2 separate regions of the Homo sapiens genome follow, and region 2 is linked to region 1. Evidence: promoter capture Hi-C in 16 types of primary human blood cells and fetal thymus (Javierre and others, 2016). All regions are on one chromosome and are shown on one strand. Each heading gives the region's core, a stretch centred on a gene start or on the middle of the fragment in contact. The rest is flanking DNA. Distances are from core to core; before and after follow the strand shown. Region 1 holds the start of TAF1C (TATA-box binding protein associated factor, RNA polymerase I subunit C). Region 2 holds the start of CDH13-AS2 (CDH13 antisense RNA 2).

What was found. The method cuts DNA at HindIII sites, captures the fragments that hold promoters and counts their contacts. A CHiCAGO score of 5 or more calls a contact.
Region 2: a contact is called between a fragment that was not itself captured here and the fragment with the promoter of TAF1C in region 1, in 1 of 17 cell types (total CD8 T cells). The highest score is 5.2, in total CD8 T cells.

What each region holds. Positions count from the first base shown.
Region 1 is chr16:84,183,483-84,190,298 of GRCh38, reverse strand. It overlaps TAF1C (TATA-box binding protein associated factor, RNA polymerase I subunit C), which reads left to right and starts at 3,242. Exons shown (of 15, transcript NM_001243156.2): 1 at 3,242-3,398; 2 at 5,239-5,448; 3 at 6,521-6,602; 4 at 6,792-6,816. The coding sequence starts at 5,311. RefSeq lists a silencer at 3,047-3,256 and an enhancer at 2,902-3,402. The HindIII fragment of the contact is 17,434 bases long and covers 2,894-6,816 here.
Region 2 is chr16:83,797,818-83,804,633 of GRCh38, reverse strand. CDH13 (cadherin 13) reads right to left here. Exons shown (of 14, transcript NM_001257.5): 14 at 3,994-6,816. CDH13-AS2 (CDH13 antisense RNA 2) reads left to right here and starts at 658. Exons shown (of 3, transcript NR_120308.1): 1 at 658-965; 2 at 1,106-1,199. RefSeq lists a silencer at 2,242-2,401. The HindIII fragment of the contact is 354 bases long and covers 4,014-4,367 here.

The sequences.
Region 1 (6,816 bases), core at 1,993-4,492:
CAATTTACACAAGGCTTACTGTGATGCAACGCGTATTTGCTTGAAGGAGGCTGCAAGTTTAACGGAGTCTTACAGTAGCCACTAACTTGGGAAAGCATGACCAGTGTCTGTAAGATTTGTCACAGTGCTTGCTGCTGCTGCTGCTGAAGCTGGGCCTGGCAGCTCTCTCCAGGATTGTGACAGTGAGGATGCTGGGGCATATGAGGACCAGGTGGTGGAGTCCTCCCAGAACCTTTGACTTGGAAGAAGCAGGTGTGGTGGGCTGGGTAGTCAGCCTCCCCAACATGTCAAGAATTGACATCAGGAAGAACAATTCCATTTTGTGTGTGTGTGCAGCCCAGAGAGTGGGATGAGGCCCAGGAGAGTGAAGGGACAGCACAGCAGATGTCCAGAAATGGACTGAGGGCTGCACATATCCACAGAGAGACTTCCACAAAGTCATCAAACCCAGTAACGCCCCAAACGCTCACCAACAGGAGGTTGCGTGAACAAATCAATGGTATATTCATACAATGGAACACGACTCACTAATTTAAAAAGGAAACAACAGCTGCGTACACAACACAGGTGAATCTATTAGGCACATGGCGTGGAAGAAGCCAGACACATCCTCTCCATGATTCCACTTATGTAAAGTTCTTGAACTGGCAAAACTAATCTGTGGTGATAAGAGTCCAAATAGTGGTTCCTTCTTGAAGGAAGTATTGACTGGGAAGTGGCACCAGGGAATTTTCTTTTTAGAAAAAAATTTTGTAGAGATGGGGGTTTTGCTCTGTTGACCAGTCTGGTCTTGAACTCCTGGACTCAAGCAACCCTCCCACCTCGGCCTCCCAAAGTGCTGGAATTATAGGCATGAGCCACTGTGCCTGGCTGGAACTTTCTTGAGTGATAGAAATGTTCTCTGTCTTGATCTGGGTGGTGTTCATGTGGGTTTCTATGTATGAATAAAAATTCAATGAGCTGTACATTTAAGACTCGTGTGCTTTACTGCATGTTGAGTATATGTCAGTTACAAAAGCAAATTGATAATGGCTTATTCAGAGAAAGGAGGAAAGGAAGAAATGGAACTGGCCTCGCAGTGCCAAAGCTGGATAGGCGTTTTACAAGGGTAATGTAGAATATTAGTGTGGTAGGCAAAATAATGGTTCCCCCAAAGATGTCTACAGCCTAATCCCCAGAACCTATGAGTATATTATTTGGCAAGGGGGCATTAAGGTTGCAGGTGGAAGTAAGGTTGCTAATCAGCTGCCTTTAAAATAGGGCTCTCACCTGTAACCCCAGCACTTTGGGAGGCCCAGGTGGGAAGGTAGCTTGAGCCCAGGAGTTAGAGACCAACTTGGGCAACATGATGAAATCCCATCTCTACAAAAACTACAAAAATTAGGCCGGGCGTGGTGGCTCATGCCTGTAATCCCAGCACTTTGGGAGGCCAAGGCGGGTGGATCACATGGTCAGGAGTTCAAGACCAGCCTGGCCAATATGGTGAAACCCCGTCCCTACTACAAATACAAAAATTAGCTGGGTGTGGTGGCAGGCACCTGTAGTCTCAGCTACTCGGGAGGCTGAGGCAGGAAAATCGTTTGAACCTGGAAGGTGGAGGTTGTAGTGAGCCAAGATCACGCCACTGCACTCCAGCCTGGGTGACAGAGTGAAACTCTGTCTCAAAATAAAAAAAAAAAAAGAAAATTAGCCAGGCATGGTGGTGCTTGCATGTAATCCCAGCTACTCGAGAGACTGAGGTGGGAGAATCATCTCAGCCTGGGAAGTTGAGGCTGCAATGAGCCATGATGGTACCACTGCACCCTAGCCTGGGCGACAGAGTGAGACCCTGTCTCAAAAAAATAAATAAAACAAATAAAATAGGGAGATTATCCTGGATTACCTGGGCGGGCCTACTATAATCACATGGGTCCTTACATGGGAAAGAGGGAGACAGAAGAGTAAAAACCAGAGAGATGGCCTCATGAGAAGAATCCGACTGGCATTGCTGGCTTTGAAGATGGAAAGGGGTCATGAGCCAAGGAATGCAGGCAGCTTCCAGAAGCCAGAAAAGACAAGATAGTGGACTCTTCCTTAGAGCCTCTCAAAAGGAACACAGCCCTGCTGGCACTTTTAGTCCAGGTAAAAACTTCCAGATAAAAACAATATAGGCCAGGCGTGGTGGCTCATCCTGTAATCCCAGCAATTTGGGAGGCCTAGGCAGGCGGATCACTTGAGGTCAGGAGTTCAAGACTCAGCCTGACCAACATGGTGAAACCCCGTCTCTACTAAAAATACAAAAATTAGCCGGGCATGGTGGCGCAGGCCTGTAATCCCAGCTACTCGGGAGGCTGAGGCAGAAGAATTGCTTGAACCCAAGAGGCGGAGGTTGCAGTGTGCCAAGATCGTGCCACTGCACTCTAGCCTCCATCTCAAAAAAATAAATAAAGACATAGATGACAGCTGAGAATTTGGAAATTGATTCTTTAAAGCAACGGTTCTCAAAGTATGGCCCCTGGACCAGCATCATCTGGGAACTTGCTAGAAATGCAGACTCTTGGGCCACATCCCAGATCTACTGAATCAGCAACTCGGGGGGCAGAGGTAGGGTGGAGCCTAGCAAACTTGTAACAAGCCCCCCAGGTGGTTCTAAGGCTCACTGAAGTTTGAGAAGTACTATGTTAGGATAACGGTAAGGTTCATGACTGGACAGTGGTTCTTAAAGCATGGCCCCCAGATAAGCAGTTTCAGCATCACCTGGGAACTTAGGCAAATCATCAGGTCCCACCCCAGACTCACCGAATTGGAGACTGTGTTTTAACTAGCCCCCCAGGTGCTACTGCTGACGCACGCTAGCTAGAGTTTGAAGACCACTGCCTAAAGCTCTCCCTGCCTGACCACCCCTGGAAAAGCTTCACTCTTAGTAGGTATTTGTACCCTTATTTGTAAAGCCCGCTTCTTGGGATTTAAGGACAATCAGTAGGATACCTACTGACCAATACAGGTCTGGCTTATAGTAGGTGTTCTGTGGGAGTTCGTTAAATGATTAATTTAATACAACTCTGAGGAAATTGGTGAAGTAGATGTGGGATTCGAACCTAAGTCCACCCGGCCTCCACTATTGGGACTCAAGGGAGCTTTATTTCCGCTGCCCACGCGCCGCCTGCACGCCCGTTCCCTCTCCTCCCGGGAGGGGGCGCGCCAGGACCCTAAGAGGCCTGGCTGGGAGGCGGGACTTCCTGCCTCCGCAGGAGGCACTTCCGGTCCAAACCGGAAGACCGTGGGTAGCTGCGGCGGGGCTGACCCGTCCCGAGTGCCAAAGCTGGGGTTCTACTTGAGATTTCCCTCGTGGTGCCAGGGTCCGGCGAGCATCACGCCGAGGCCCATTTTCCAGACGACCACGACGAGGCCGGGGTCACGTAAGTGCACGCATGCGCCCCCTCCGCGCGGACTGCGCGTGTTCGAGGAGCGGACCCGCAGATGTAGGAGGGGAGGGACGCCCCCAATCCCCAGTCCCCGCGGCAGGCTCACGTTTCGCAGTCCCCGGCCTGTCGTTATTGCGGATCCGACTGAGTTCTGTAGCCTTGGAGGTCTAAAGGGTCCTGGAGAGCCCGCAGCGAGGGCGGGAAGCCGGCCGGGGAAGTCGAGGCTGCCTTGTCTGAGGGCTTTTGTGGGGTCGTGCTCTCCACCAGCGCCCTCCGCCTGTCTAGGATCGTTTCAGGCTATGCGGTTCCAAGAGAAAATATTTTTGTTTCTATTTTATTTTTGAGATAGAACCTTGCTCTGTCACCCAGGCTGGAGTGCTGTGGCATGATCTTGGCTCACTGCAACCTCTGCCTCCCAGATTCAAGCGATTTTCGTGCCCAGCCTCCTCGGTAGTTGCGATTACAGGTGTACACCACCACGCCCGGCTAATTTTTGTATTTTTAGTATTGACAGGGTTTCACTGTATTGGCCGGACTGGTCTCAAACTTCTGGCCTCAGGTGATCCGCCCGCCTTGGCCTCCCAAAGTGCTGGGATTGCAGGCGGGAGCCACCGCACCCGGCCAAAGGGAAAAGATTTTTGTATAGCGAGACTCTAATGCTAGCGTTTGCATTTCGGTGCATGCGAGAGCACTGGTTCGGAGCTCTGCCTCTGAATCGGATGGGAATCAAGTCTTGGCTGTGGCAGCTAAGAGCTGTTGGACTAAAGTTCTTGCTGAGCCTTCGTTTCCTGAACTCTGTTAACAGGGACGGCGATAGAAGAGTGCAGCATTTAGCATGTGCCTGGCAGATAGATGCTGGCGCTTGGTCAGCGAGCGCTGCTGTTATTTTTGCCCCTGTTATTTTTGTTAATTAAAAAGGAGGGATGCTATGGCTGCTCATACTTCTAGAGGACTGTATTTACCAAAGCCTTGTGATGTAATTTTTTTTTTTCTTGAGATGGAGTTTCGCTCTTGTTGCCCAGGCTACAGTGCAATGGCGCGATCTCAGCTCACCGCAACCTCCGCCTCCCGGCTTCAAGGAATTCTCCTGCCTCAGCCTCCCGAGTAGCTGGGATTACAGGCATGCGTCACCACGCCCGGCTAATTTTGTATTTTTAGTAGAGACCGGGTTTCTCCACATTGGTCAGGCCAGTCTCGAACTCCCGACCTCAGGTGATCCGCCTGCCTCGGCCTCCCAAAGTACTAGGATTACCGGCGTGAGCCACCGCGCCCGGCCCCTTGTGATAGAAATTTATTTTTTTCAACCCCTAGTGCATTTTCTGGGAGGCACTGTGCTTGACAGTAGGAAGACGATGCTCAGATGCAGTCCCTGGCTGTGGAGTAACTTGAGCGTCTTGGGGGTGTAGTCTGTAAATGTATGATGACGGTACTTACGAGCCGGGAGAGAGGCTGCCCCTTGCCGTCTTTCTGACTCCATCTCCACCGCTCTCCACCTCGCTCACTCTGGCTGCCTCATTTTCTCACACACTTCACTGCTCTAGGATTTTCACAGTTGTTGACCGTTCGGCCTGGAACCCTCTTCCCAGTTGCGTACATGGTTCTCTCCTTCACTAGGTTCAGGCTGTGCTCAAACGCCACCTTCTCAACGAGGCTTTTCCTGGCTGGCTTTGCTGAAACCACGCCCTCAGCCCACTACCAGATCCCCTTCTCCTGGACGGGTGGTTGGCTTTAATACAGTTCTCACTACTGCTTGGCCTTGGGCTACATATTTGTTTTTTGTTATCTGCTTCCTCAAAGAACATATGCTTCCCGTAGTGCACTTTTCACTCCTCAGGAACTCTGGCGCCCCTTACCAGCTTCCAGTCTCTCGAGGTGGCCAGTGTGGTGCTTGGTCCTTGTTTCCAGGATGGACTTCCCCAGCTCCCTCCGCCCTGCATTGTTTCTGACCGGCCCCCTTGGTCTGAGCGACGTCCCTGACCTCTCTTTCATGTGCAGCTGGCGAGACGCACTGACTCTGCCAGAGGCCCAGCCCCAGAACTCAGAGGTGAGGATGCAGGCAGGGGGCCCTGGCAGCTCCAGGGACATCCCTTCCCTGGGTCCCCCGTCTCACATTCACATCAGTTGACAAGGCCACAGAGTGGTGGCATTCACACGAGTCTGCTGAGACACAGGCTCTGCCACCTCCTCTGGGGTACATGGGCTACCCTGCCATCCCTAGACGGATGCCCCCACTATGCCGGGTCCCTTATGAGACCGTGAGAATGCTGCCTGAATCAGTCGGTTGACCCCTCCCTTCCTGGAACGGAGAGCTGAGTTGAGCGAGAATAAACAAGTGAACTTTATCCAATGGATAAGGTGTTTACAAAATGTGATCAGAGCTTGGAATGAAAGCAGAAGGATGCTGAAACAGCATAGTAGGGTTGGGAGAGGGGAGGATAGACCTGCAGGGTTTCTGCTGCCTCTGGAGGGACACTGGCCCTTTGCTTGGAATCCTCAGCCGCCTAGTTCCCCTTGGAAACACCCTGTCTGGGAATGAAGCCTGGCAGAGGCAAGTGGGTGAGCAAATAAAAAGAGAGACAGTGGAGCAGAGGCTTGGGGAACGGGGGTCAGGGATGGCATCCTTACGAGGGAGGGTCTGGCGTCAAATTGGGGCTCCTCTGGGAGTCTGGTTTCCTAGCTCTTTTGTCCCCTGAATGTCTGGGCCGAAACATCCCAGGCCAGCCCAGCAAAGGGAGGTGGAGCCGCCTGCCGGGCTCCCAGAGTGACTGCAAGGTCTCCTGAATGGAAGTGAGGTTACGTGAGATGTGGACCAGCCACTGGTGGCATGAGGGGCTTCCTTCTTTGAGAGCCAGCACAGGTGGAGGTCGGAAACAGGAGCTCTGGGGTCAGGCTGCCTGGGTTCACATCCCAGCTCTTCTCTTTACCGGCTCTGTCTTCTGGGGCAAATGGCAGTGTGCCTCAGTTTCTTCAGCAGTAAAATGACAATGCCAGTCATCCCAGCTTCGCAGGATTGTTGTGAGGATTGGATGAGTTGATAAGAGATGAATGCCTGTGCACAGCCTGGCCCAGGGAGGGCATTCATCATGATACTGTCCTTGCGATTGTCCTCCCTTCAGAATGGGGCACTGCATGTGACCAAGGACCTGCTGTGGGAGCCGGCAACCCCTGGGCCTCTCCCCATGCTGCCTCCCCTCATCGGTAAGGGTCTCATTCCCCCGGGCTCACTCCACACTGCTCCACCTATTCTTCCCACTGCTCCCGCTCCTGAGACCTTCCTCTCCCTGCTAAGCCTGTGCCTGCTCAGGACCCTTGGATACCTCCAGTCGCCCAGGGCATCTGGCCGCACTCCTGTGCCCTCCCCAGCCCTTTCCGTAACCTCCTTCTCAGATCCCTGGGACCCTGGCCTGACTGC
Region 2 (6,816 bases), core at 2,941-5,440, 390 kb after region 1:
GCACCTGCGTCAGCTCTGTAGGCCCAGCCCTGGGGCCCAGCAGCTGCTCCCCTGGTTTGCTTTCCTCCCAGGTTGCCTCATGCTGCTGCTGAGCAACCTTCACCTGATGGGCGGTGCCACAGCAGGGTCAGTGAAGGGTGCCCCTTCCTTCTAGTGACCTGGGCTGCCCTAGCCCTGGCCCTTCAGTAGCCATTCCAAACCTTTCTGGTCCCCCCAAATCCAGGACTTTATCCCCTTCACCCTCAGAGGATGACCTTATATTCTATTTTGTGGAGAAAATGGAGACTGTCCATCAAAACCCCTTAACTCCCGTCCTGCGTGCATTCCTAAGTTCCTACATTAACCCCCGTGTCACTAGCTAACGATCCTTTCTGTCTCAGGAAGCAGTGTTCTTCCTCGCGCACAGGGCTCTGCGTTTGTCTAAGGCAGAGAGACCTGGGCCCTGATCCCATTCTCTTTCCTCAACTCCAGGAACTTGCTTCCTGCATTCATTTTCTTTTTTCCAATGATTCCTCCTTCTCAGCACATAAAAGTGACCAACCCCTCGCCCCACCCCCGCTGCACAAAAAACAAATAGAAAATGGAAACCAGTCCAACCAGGGTGAACCTCCACTGACTGTGTGCCCTTGTTGAGCTACTGCTCATAGGGGAGCTTCTAGAAAGGAAGGACTTATTGTCTTAGTTACTTGATCCACTTCCTTACCTCCTGTTCATGCAACTTTGCTTGTTTTGCTTCTACTAAAATGGTTCTAGGTGCTGTGTGGACAGGTGATACAAAAGCCTGACTCACACGGTTGACATTCATTCATTCCATTTTCATTTCTCTTTGAGTGATCCTGACAAGCAGAGGGTCTCAGGTGGATATTACTGTGTCTTTGAGACCTCTCTAATCCTTATCTATCTCTCATTTTAATACAGAGAGTTTCATACGCAGACCTTAAGTAGACATAGTATCCAGCTAAAAGGTAATTATGCTTTTTTGTTTGTTTTCATTGTATTTATTTTTACTGCTGCTTTATTGTATTCCAAGTGATACTGGTTTTTCATTCATGTTGTTATAATGTAGAGTTTTCTTTTTCTTTTTTCTTTTTTTTTTTTGAGACAGGGTCTCACTCTGTCACCCAGGCTGGAGTGCAGTGGCGCAGTCATGGCTCCCTGTAACCTCAACCTCTCAGACTCCAGCAATCCTCCTGCGACAGGTATGCACCATTACGCTTGTCTAATCTTTGTATTTTTTGTAGAGATGGAGTTTCGCCATGTTGTCTAGGCTGGTCTTGAACTCTTGGGCTCAAACCATCTACCTACCTGCCTTGGCCTCTCCAAATGCTGGGTTGATAGGTATGAGCTACCATGCCCGGCCAATGTACCAGCTTCTTTTAAAATAAATTCAAGCCAAAATTATAAATGTAAAATTACGTAGTTTAAAACTAGAGTTGTAGCTGATGGTACAGGTGGCATTTCAGTGTGGCAGAGTTAGTGAAGGTGCTGAGAGATGAGACAGGGAGACGGCTAAATAGGGACGATATTCCCTTGGGATTAAAGTTTAGAAAATCCTGCCTTGAAAGAAGGCAGGGAGCCAAAGGGTGAAGACATTGCGTGTGCTGTGAAACAACATGGTTACAAAATTTGATAAGGGGAAGCACAGGAACTATGACTGCATCAGGGTAACATCGACTTGCTTCTTCTCCGTGGGGATAAACTCAGAGAGGATGCTGAGGGATGTCAGCAGGTGCTGGGTCCCTGTTTTTCACAGAACAATCCTTCAGGTGCTAGTAAGCCTCAGGAGGAGGATGCTGTCCCGCTGGCACGAGGAGGGGCTGGGGCACGACAGTCATCATCCAAGCAAAGGTAGGGCTTAGTTACAGACACAGAACGGCAGATTTAATCTAGAAACACCACCATCCTGGTACCAGTCTTCTTGGCTTGGATTCCCATGTAAAAATCCAGCGTTGCTACCCTCTCAAGGGTGTGCCCTGGTTAGAATGAGTGGATATTTTGCCTCGCATTACCAAAGCACAAGGAGGTCTCTTTGAGGACTTGTTTGTAAAAAAATCAAACAACAACAAACAAACAAACAAAAACCTAGAAAATTGCTTTTCTCGGGGAGAATGGTGTGATCGGTGGTTGTTCTGACAATTTCACGTTCTCTTGCTTTCGGATTGAAGCATTGGTTTCTGTTTCTTATGTTCTTTTGAGGCAAATTTCCAAATTAGCGTCTCTATGACTGGCTGCCAAGGCATCCGTTTGCTATTTATTTACCCAAACTAGCAGTTTCCTGGAGACAGACTGCCTAGGGGGAAGGAAAGTTTTCTTATAGACCAGATTTGCAAGTTTGGGTTTCCTCTGCTTCATCCCCCATCATTGACAACTTGCTTAGTCCTCAGCACTTTCATGCATTGTTTGTGATGACACAGTTTGTTCCTGGAGATAAATGGGGTGGTGCTGCCTTAGCATATAGCAAGAAAAGTGCCAGGGTGGGGCCATGCATATCACTTAGTAGTCGTGAGACCTACTGTGAGATAGTTTTAACTGTGTGAACCTCAGTTTCTTCATCTATAGAATGGTGCTAATGTCTATTACATAAATTATGTATATGATATATAATTATGTATTACACATAAATTACAAATATAACTACAAGGTAATATGTATATACACATCTATATAGATACGTAAAGTATCCGGCCCGTAGGAAGCACTTAACGAATACCCCCTTCCCTTTTTTTTTTTTTTTTTCGCTTTTGAGTTGGAGTCTTGCTCTGCTCTGTTGCCCAGGCTGGAGTGCAGTGGCACTATCTTGGCTCACTGCAACCTCCGGCTCCCAGGTTCAAGAGAGTCTCCTGCCTCAGCCTCCTGAGTAGCTGGGATTACAGGTGCCCACCATTACACCTGGCTTAGTTTTATATTTTTGGTAGAGACGAGGTTTCTCCATGTTGGCCAGGCTGGTCTTGAACTCCTGACCTCAGGTGATCGGCCCACCTCTGCCTCCCAAATTGCTGGAATTACAGGCGTGAGCCACCACATCTGGCCCCCTCCTTTTTTTACAAAATGATCTCACTAACCTTCTTGCTATCTTCTCTCTCTTTCTATCTCTCTCTCTCTATCATCTATCCATCTATCCTTCTATCATCTATATATCTGTTTTTCCAAATCAGAATGATTGACTTTTATGAAAGAAGCAGAAGAGAGCCAATTATTAAGCAGGCAGCACTTGGTTTTAGTCTTGGTTTTTAAACATCATAGGCTAACCTGGTGTGGAGTCCTGATAAGTAAGCAACAATGAGGAAGGGGGGTCCCAGGTAGGGAACAACTGTTCCAAGAGACAGCTAATCACAAACAAGCCGCTGGCACAACTACCTCACTCCAAGTGTAACATCCTCCAGCACAACCCTATAAAACTTCCCTCCAGCCCCTGCCTCTTTCCAGACATCCCCTTCTCTGCTGTGCTGCCTGTTGCTTCCTTGCAACGTACTTTCCCTTGAATAATCAGCCTTTCTTTACCTACAACTGTCTTGGTAAATTGGTAAATTCTTCTTCTTCTTCTTCTTCTTCTTTTTTTTTTTTTTTGAGACAGAGTCTCACTCTGTTACCCAGGCTGGAGTGCAGCGGCGCTATCTCGGCTCACTGCAACCTCCGCCTCCCAGGTTCAAGCGATTCTCCCGCCTTAGCTTCCTGAGTAGCTGGGATTACAGGCATGCGCCACTGTGCCCAGCTAATTTTTGTATTTTTGGTAGAGATGGGGTTTCACCACTTTGGCTAGGCTGGTCACGAACTCCTGACCTCCGGTGATCTGCCCGCCTTGGCCTCCCAAAGTGCTGGGATTACAGGCGTGAGCCACCACGCCCTGCCGGTAAATTCTTTTACCATCCACAACACCGGCACCAGCCAGTTGCACCCATGACACTGTGCACCATTGGAAAAAAAGGTCCCTTTGCTCTGTCACAGTGTTTAGACCAGACTGTACTAAAGATGGTCTAAGACTAAACACACAAGTTAAAAATCCCAGATAAGCTTTATTTGAATGTTTCACAAACAAGTTGCACATTTCTCTGTAACTACATAGTAAAGCAAATGTTAGTTTACAGCTCAGAAACTGTAAGCAATTCAGCAGTGAGGGCCCAAAGGAGCGACATCTGCCATAGACTGAATATTTTAACATGATTAACTTTTATCCCTTTTGAAAAGTGTGTGTGAATAAAAAGCATTTAAAATTTCTTAAAATTTTTATCTGGGGGGATACATAAAATTTTGTCATCAGGACAGTGTTGACATGTGCATGACAACACAGATATAACTCTCTAATAATAGTCTGAATTCATGTGTACGACAGATATAGAATGGCTTTAGTACTCTCTAAAGAAAAAGCTTTTTAAAAAGTAGCAAAAAAATAGTCTCCAGTTTATTTTCATAGTGCTTCTATAAGCCCCTTTCTCCAAATCTTCATAGCTTCAGAGTGAAAACCTCCCTCGTCCTACACCACCCAACGCTTTTCACCATCTCCCTACCAATGAGACGGCACGTGGAAAGTCAAATAAAATGGTTCAAAGGCGTATCAAGCTCAGCAACCCTCCAACGATAGATGTGATGATAGCAACATAGTATGAGAGAGAGGAAATTTTTCCGCTTACTTAATTTGATGAGTATCTCAATTATTTCTGCTTAAATTATAGACTGACTCTTCTTAAATTATATAATTGAAGTTCTTATCTGAAACCCTCATACACACACCCATTCCCACCATTTTTTGCTGTCTCTCCATGTCTTGTATATGCTTTCATGTGAACACGGTCACAACTGCAGAATTTTTTCAATAGTGGGCTAATCTATTAGCAATAGGAAATATAGTAAGGGTAACACATTGCATATAGTAAAAGAATTGTTAATTGTGTTAGATGAACCATTTTGAAAGCATTTTATCATTAGACTGTGAAAATTATCAAATCTCAACAGTCAGTTAAGGAGAGAAGATGGAGGTCTTTATGAAAGATGTAGCCAGATTATTAGATTATTATTCTTAGTATTTGGTAAACAGAAAAGGTAGGTGGCTTTTTTAGTGCTTGGGTTTCCTGTTGGTGTGACTTACCCTGTTGACTCATGTTTAAGGCAGCTACACGTAAACAGATTTATGGGCTACCTTTACAAAATCAGCAACTACTTAGAGATCCTTTAGAATTTGCCCCTTTGAATGATTTATAGCAAAGCACAGTGCAAACCCTTTGAGACCCCACCCCACTTTCTCCCTCAGTTTTCTCTCCCCTCAGTTGGTTTGGTAGTGAATGGGTACTCTGGAGTTCATAAATTTCCTTTTCTTTCTTTTTTTTTTTTTTTTTTTTTGACGGAGTCTTGCTCTGTTGCCCAGGCTGGAGTGCAATGGCTCACTGCAAACTCTGCCTCCTGGGTTCAAGCGATTCTCCTGCCTCAGCCTCCTGAGTAGCTGGGGTTTCAGGTGTGCACCACCACACCCAGCTAATTTTTGTATTTTTTAGTAGAGATAGGGTTTCACCATGCTGGCCAGGCTGGTCTTGAACTCCTGACCTTAAGTGATCCACCCGCCTCTGCCTCCCAAAGGGCTGGGATTACAGGCATGAGTCACCATGCCCGGCTACTTTTGATTAACTGAGATGTTAAATTAATCTAGGAGAAGCCCCTCATCTACCTGCTAACAAGCCATGGAAGGGAAGGGGCAAATAATTACGTTATCTTGCACAGGAAAAATTTCTAAGGTCTCAATATTAATTTAGAACGATGTTAACATTTTTTTTTTTAACAGAAAGCTTTCAGATTGAAGAAGTATAGCATGAACTTAATAATAGGTAACAGAAGATACTGTTAGTAAAAGGTACTTAATAGTAAAGGGTACCTCATAGTAAAAGGTACTGTTGCTTAACAGTAAGTTGGTCTAGCTGCATAGTCACGCTAATGGAGGCTTCAAACGAGGGTCTTCCGGTCTGCAGTAGGCACTTTGTCTGGTTTTGCTCCTGGGTTGAGAGTGGCATTGTGATGTTGTCGGAAGAACATGAACCCTGGAGCCAGATAGCCTGAGGTTTGGTTCTGGAGGCCACTTACCTTGGGCAAGCCATTCAATTTTTCTGAGCCTCAGCCTTCTTTATCTGTGAGTTGGAGAAGATAGTAGTGCTTGTCTCATATGTTACTGGAGGGATTAATGAGTTACTATCTGTAAGGATTTTGTACAGTGTGGGCACATAATAAGCAGTTGATAAATATAAACCATTATTATAATTATTAATCACCTTTTTGGTACCATGTTCATACACCCCCTAGGAAAATTGTAGACTCCTTTCCTCAGAATCATCTGGAGAGCTCGTGCCTGGGTGCAACTGCACTAAATCCAGGATCAAACACAGACTTGTTAAAAATTTTTTAGTTGTCACATCTTAAGATTAAGACCCAGTGTATTTATTTGGGTAAAATGCAATTTGAGCTACTCTATGAGTGTGATGGTAGATGGTTGTTCCATTTATCAGACTGTTTTAAATGACATTCTGAAACTCTGGAATGAGCTATCAAAATTTCTAACGATGTTCTTTAAGAGCCAAAGTCTTATTTGATACCTACCATGAAATCTGGCTGGATTTATTTCGTTATAATGCTTAGATTTGCTGGTGTCGGCCAAGAGGCACAGCAGGTATATCTGCCTGGAATGATGCTCATTTGGAGAGAACTGGCGGTATTGAAGGTGACTTTTATTGAAATTAGAAAATGTGTGCATATTCTTATTAAAACAAATTATCCAAAATAATTAATTTATCGTATGTAAAATGAGGGAGAAAATGTGATTTTTAATCAACTAAGTTG